Regions from separate parts of the Homo sapiens genome. Here region 2 is linked to region 1. The links are contacts of gene promoters, found by promoter capture Hi-C in human tissues and cell types (Jung and others, 2019). All regions are on one chromosome and are shown on one strand. Each heading gives the region's core, a stretch centred on a gene start or on the middle of the fragment in contact. The rest is flanking DNA. Distances are from core to core; before and after follow the strand shown. Region 1 holds the start of NEK3 (NIMA related kinase 3). Region 2 has its middle 33 kb from the start of CCDC70.

The links. The method cuts DNA at HindIII sites, captures the fragments that hold promoters and counts their contacts. A contact is called where the count stands out against the background at its distance.
Region 2: a contact is called between a fragment that was not itself captured here and the fragment with the promoter of NEK3 in region 1, in 1 of the 25 tissues and cell types used here (dorsolateral prefrontal cortex).

What each region holds. Positions count from the first base shown.
Region 1 is chr13:52,157,779-52,161,100 of GRCh38, reverse strand. NEK3 (NIMA related kinase 3) reads left to right here and starts at 1,504. Exons shown (of 16, transcript NM_002498.3): 1 at 1,504-1,558. RefSeq lists silencers at 1,568-1,627, 1,708-1,817. The HindIII fragment of the contact is 9,103 bases long and covers 1-3,322 here.
Region 2 is chr13:51,893,195-51,896,516 of GRCh38, reverse strand. It overlaps a transcript of TMEM272 not described here. Among named protein-coding and RNA genes, the nearest start is that of CCDC70, 33 kb to the right of the region's middle. The HindIII fragment of the contact is 3,594 bases long and covers 46-3,322 here.

The DNA.
Region 1 (3,322 bases), core at 255-2,754:
CTTTAAAAACCCTACCCAAAAATAGCTGGTCAGGACACAATTCAAATGCTTCTGGAATCTGTGTTCCTTGAACTGCAATTCTCAGACTGCCAATAAACTTCTTTACTTGGATTTCGGTCTCTCTGACTCTGGTTGACACGTTATAATGAACACGTTCAGCGCTTACAAGTAAAGGGTAACCAGATGTTGTTCACAGTAATCCTATGAGGTAGGTTCTATACTTTTATACAGAGGGATTTAGTTACTCTGCTGTATTAGTTTCCTAAGGCTTCTGTAACAAACTGTGACAACCTAAGTGGCTAAAACGACACGAATTTATTACCTTACAGTTCTGAAGTTCAGAAATACAGCTCACTGGGTTAAAATCAAGGCGTCAGTGTGCATGGTGGTTTTCCTGTAGTCCCAGCCACTCAGGAGGCTGAGGTGGGCGGATCGCTTGAGCCCGGGAGCTCAAAACCAGTCTTGGCAACATAGCAAGACCCTGTTTCAAAAAACAAAAAAATCAAGGGGTCAGCTGGACTGTTACTTCTGGAAGCTCTGGGGAACAATTTGGTTTTTGTTTTTTGTTTTTCCCTCCTTTTCTAGCTTCTCCTCCTTTTCCACCTCCCACCTCCTCCTTTATATATATATATATATATATATATATATTTTTTTTTTTTTTTGGAGACAGGTTCTTGCTCTGTCACCAAAGCTGGACTGCAGTGGTGGGATCATGAGCCCTCTCCAGCTCTAGTGATCCTCCTGCCCCAATCCCCCGAGCAGCTGGGACCACAGTGCCCGTCGCTATGTCTAGTTAATTTTTCGTAGAGACGAGTGTCTCACTATGTTGCCCAGGCTGATCTCGAACTCCTGGGCTAAAGTGTTCCTCTCCTGCCTCTGCCTTCCAAAGCACTGGGATTGCAAACATGAGACACTGTGCCTGCTCCTCTTCCAGCTTCTTGAGGCCAGCTGCATTCCTTGGCTGTTGCCCCTTCCTCCACCTTCAAATAGCTTTCTCATACTGACCTTCTTTTTGGGCCCCTTCCACTTTAGAGAACCCTTGTAATTACTTTGTAATTACCCAAGCACACACTCCAAGATCGTCACCTTATTTTAAAGTCCGCTGATAAGCAACCTTAATTCCATCTGCAATCTTAACCCCCTCTGCCAAGCAAGAGAACAAACGCACAGGTTCCAGGGAGTAGGATGTGGACATCCTGAGGCGGAAGCATTATCCCGCCTTCCACAATTGCCCAAGGTCACATAGCTAGTAAGTTCTAGCTAGCACTGAGTGCTGTGCCCGTGAAATTTATCTACATAGGCTTTCACTTAACCTGCAGACAGAACTCAGTTAGTCGGGGACAATTTCCCTCAATGTTAACAGCACTGTTCCACCGCAACGTGGAACAACAGCTTTAAAACGTGCTCTTCGTAGGCCCGGCTACTCCAAGAACAGTGCCTCCCGCCAGACCCAGGCGGCTTCCTTCACCCGCAACCCGAGAGACGACCCGCCGGGCCCGCCCCGCGGAAGCCGCCGGTTGCCAGGCCAAGGAGTGGACTAGGGTCGCCGGGGAAGCGGGTGAGTGGTCCCCGCCCTGGCGGGCTGCCTCTAGAACGAGGAGGGCGGCGCGTGGTCGCGGCGCGGAGCCGAGTGGGAGCGAGGGGTAGACGCGCCCCGGACGCGCGGCCGCGCCCCTCACTTCCGCCCCGCGGTCTGGACCACTCGCCGCAAACCCGCAAGTCCCTCGCCGCCTTGGGGTCTGGGCGCGCGGTGCCGTGGGGGTCAGCAGGGCGGAGCGGCTTTTCCAGGAGAAAGGGCCCTCACGGGTGAGCGGGGCGACTGGGCTCCCCCGCGGTGCAGTTGCCCCGCGGGCGCCGGCCCCGGCTCAACGGATTCTTCTCGCTCGCTGCCCGGAAAGAACCAGTGAGAACCGCTGTTGCAGCAAAAAAAGAAGTTAATAAGCGCAGGGCTGGCCAAACCAGAACAGGGTCTCAGACCTGTCTCCCCGAGAATTCGGGGGCGAGGGTTTTAAAGGGCATTTTGGCTTCGGGGGGCTGGGGAACTGAAACAGTTGACCGGCTGGGGATGAAATCACAAGAGCTTCTGAAACTCGGGGCGGCTTCGTTGGTTCCCAGGAAGGGGTGGGGTCAGTTTCCCTTGTCTTGAAGTTTACACGAAATCCCTCTCCCAGTTATCCTAGCCTCTGTGCTAGAATAAGAAAACGACAACACGGTGAAAACTTAGCCCGTGAGGTTAGAAGCAAGATGGAGTCAGTCATGTTAGATTTCTCGCATTACTTATACATCTGTAAAGGTGGTTTCAGGGACCTTTCTGAACTTAGCCCGTATCTCACTGGTGATCCCACTTCTGGGTATTTGCAAATCACTTTATTAGGTTTTTAAAAGTATTGTTGCAGGCATGCGAAGGGGCCGATATACTTTTGCCATGTCCAGAGTGTATTCAGGTCTTGTAATGATCATATGGGTGTAATATTGAGTAACAGGCAAATGTGGGCAGAAAATATCAAATGTGGTTTTCAGCTAAGAAGTCTGGTTGCTCTTAATTTTCAGTTACTCTCCATTGCATAGAATAAAGCCCCGAAGAAACGAAGAATAAGATCATGGGGAAACTTGGCTTCCATGTTAAACCGTGTAATACCAGGTGTTAGAATAGTAGTAAAGGACTTGTTTCTTTCACATCTATATACACTCAAAAGACCTCATCGATCTTGGAAAAACATTGTTTCGAAGACAATGTGTATGACTGATTTGGTTATATGAAGAAATTATTTCTAGGATTTCCTGGTAATTCTGTGATAAACAGTAATACAAACTGGAATTTTTACAGGTCACTATAGTAGAGGTTTTAGTTTGATTTTTGCTTTGCCTGTCATGCTCTCTCTGCCTTATAATTCTTTGTGGTGTAATTAAAAAACGAACACTAGGGCCGGACGGGGTGGCTCACGCCTGTAATCCCAGCACTTTGGGAGGCCGAGGCGGGCGGATCATCTGAGGTCGGGAGTTCGAGCCCAGCCTGACCAACATGGAGAAACCGCGTCTCTACTAAAAATACAAAATTAGCCGGGCGTGGTGGCGCATGCCTGTAATCCCAGCTACTCGGGAGGCTGAGGCAGGAGAATCACTTGAACCTGGGAGGTGGAGGTTGCGGTGAGCCGAGATCGCACCATTGCACTCCAGCCTGGGCAACAGGAGCGAGACTCCGTCTCAAAATAAAAAACAAACACTGTAAGCTTTTTGAAAAATCAAGTAAATTCATTACAGTGTTTTTCCTGCAATGAAAAAGAATGCATCACTTCCCTAAGGTTTTAATAATCATAATAGC
Region 2 (3,322 bases), core at 593-3,092, 260 kb after region 1:
TGCAGAACCAGGACCTGCCCTGAGCATTTTAGCCAGGCTGTGAGAGGGTGCCCTCTCCTGGACATGCTGCTGCTGCTCACATAGTTCCTTCACTTAAAACCAAGTCTCTGAAATGATAAGAAAACTTCAATAATTATTCTAAAAACATACATTTGTGTTACACACACGTGTTTCTCTGTCTCTCTCATACACACACACACCCCTCTAGAGCTATATGGCTTGTTATAGGCTTTGAAAATCTTTTATATTCACCAAGCTGTCCCCGATGGCACAGCTAGAAGGAGCTGGAGAAAAAGACAAGTCAGTCTGAAGCTTTCTTGTAGGCTGAGAGTTACATTTCCCACAGATTGGCTTCTCCAGGAAGGGGATGTGGAGTGTTGGACTTTCCTGTGCCAAAGTTGAGACTGGGGCCCTGGGGTTTGCTGAACACTAATAGAATTTAGCAGACTCTTGTTCTCCCTGAAGAAAAGAGCTTTTGAAAGCAGGCATTGTCCACAGAAAAGAGATGAAGTGTTTAGGCTAAGAGGAGGAGGGTCAGGCAGCTGTTAGAAGAGGCTTGTGGTTACGTTGGTTGCTATGTGGGAAATTTTTGTAAAAATTTAAAAAGGGAAAAAAGACCATGGCAAGAGCATCCTGAGTCTCAGGGGTTGTGTATTGGAATCTGAGAAGTGGAGAGGATATTTACCATCACAGGGGGGCTGTCAGATCACGGATGTTAAGCATTTGGCGCATTGGGAACACTCCCTACTGGTAGCTGTAAATATCATCATTAGCTGCATGCTCAGCTGTTTTATTTTTTCCCCCATCCCAGGGCAGAGGGTGGGGGGATGTAGGCAGTGGTGTCAGGGTCTAGCTGGGAGGAGTGAGGGGACAGGAGGTTGAAGATGAGGAAATGCCTGGTCTGCTATCTTGGTAGCCCTAGCTTCAGGCCCTGTCCCACAGGTAGATGGATAAATGTCCCAGGTGGAGCCCATAGCAAACACCCCTCTGCACCTTCCCACCAGAGTTCTTTTCAGGGCTATCCAAGAGACAGCCAGAATCCATTCCCTGCCTAAAGCACAGAGAATCTGACTTGAGCCACTGTCTTGTGGCTCGATTTCCCTGCAGTTACTACCGAGTGTGAGCCCCATCCATAAGGAATATTTAGAAAACCATCTTCAGAGGCAGTTTCCCACCCCACAATGGCAGCTGAAGAGGACAATGCTATCAGAGCCTATGCTGGTTATGGGTTCTCTGCAGCTCCCCACAAACCACCCCAATACCACATGCATCTCAGCCAGGCTGACCCAAGTTCCTTTTTCCTTTAAGTCAGGGGTCCCCAGCCCCTGGGCTATGGACCAGTACTTGTCCATGGCCTGTTAGGAACTGGGCCACACAGCAGGAGGTGAGTGGCAGGTGAGCAAGCGAAGCTTCATCTGTATATACAGCTGCTCCCCATCACTTAAATTACCACCTGAGCTCCACCTCCTGTCAGATCAGCAGTGGCATTAGATTCTCATAGGAGCATGAACCCTATTGTGAACTGTGCATGCCAGTGATCTAGTTTCCCCACTCCTTATGAGAATCTAACACCTGATGATCTGTCACTGTCTCCCATGACCCCCAGATGGGACCATCTAGTTGCAGGAAAACAAGCTCAGGGCTCCCACTAATTCTACATCATGGTGAGTTGTAGAATTATTCCGTTATATATTACAATGTAATAATAATAGAAATCAAGTGCACACTAAATGTAATGCACTTGAATCATCCTGAAACCATTCCCCAGCCTGGTCCATGGAAAAATTGTCTTCCACGAAACTGGTCCCTGGTGCCAAAAACGTTGGGGACCACTGCTTTAAGCGACTGCAGGCTCCATTTGCACATTTGGGTTTGCCCTTTTGCAAACTTCTCAGTCCTTTCGCGCCTTTCCTTTGAACATCCACTGGGCATCTGCTTCTCACCCTGCAGCTGTAATTTTCAGATTTACAGAACTTAGCTCCCCAGCAAAACCCCAGCCAACCACCATCGCCTCATCCCCAGCTGCAGTGATTGGCTCCAAGGGTGAATACGTCACCCAAACCTGGCCAATCAGAGTCCTTTTACTGAACTTCCACATGTAGGGCTCTTCTATCTTGGATTTTTATTACCTGGGAGGGCATAAAGCTGGTATTTCCTGTGCTGATGTCCCAGTCCCCTGACTCACAAAGAAAGAGTGTCTGTAGGGAGAGAGAACAGGCCCAACACATGAGGTGTGGAGAGCTGGAGAGCACTCATGCCTTTGCTTTAGTTCCTGAATCCAGTTGTGCCTGCAGCCACTTCTGTCCCTGTCCTTTCACAGTTATCTGTCCCAATACATCCCACTCCCTCCTTGATGATTTGAATTGTTGCTGACACTTTTTAACCTCTAAAGTTGTGATGACTACAAACTTGTTCCCCAAGCAGTTCTTCAATGCAGGGGGTGTGGTGTGTCTGTATCCATTTAGTCTCAATTTGAAGATTAGAAACTTGCTGGCCTGTCTCAGGCCTTCCAGGCTCCGTCCTGTGTGATGACTTCTTCCTTCTTTGCTCTGCATATAGCACTACTGTCTTCATCATTTATTACTATTGTGATCTTCGTTATTATTTAAATCATACAAAGTTCTGCATTGAGGATTTCATGTATTATATTTGTTTTCTCCACAACAAGATGACAAGCTTTTGGAATTATTTTTACATCTTAAAAAACAGTCTTTTCAGGACTGACCTTAATTCTGGGCACCTATCCAATAAATAACATTAATTAAATAAAAAACATTTTCCCAAACGCAGAAGCAACTGTGTGGCCTCCTCTGAGCACGATCACATTCCCTGGTGATCGAGTCTTCAGCTGATGCTGATCATTTGAATGTTCACATTCTCAATGTGAAGAGGCCAAGCAGAAGCGCATACGGTGTGAGCCAGGGGAAGAGATTTTTGTACAGCTCCTCTAAAGTAAACATTGTTTTGGGGAGAATCCCAGAAAAACACACATTCATCGTTGTTGCTGTTTTTTCCTGATTAGTCTCAGGACCACAGTGATTCTGAAGCAGCAGGTCCTGGTGAAGCTAAAGGAAGAGGGGGATCTGAGATTAGGGTGCAGGGAAGGAGGGACAATACTTCAGCACAGAAACAAGGCCCAGACTTTCTAATTTGGGATGCTTTTCGCATGTACTTCTTTACTGAGGGAGACAGAGCTTTTGATGCATTTAATACTGGCAAATTAAAATGGCTAAAACACAGATATAATTTAAGCTCTCTCCTAATCCTCTAAACAAATACTCGAGAACTGCAAAGAAAGAAAACTAAGCTAATCTCCATCTGA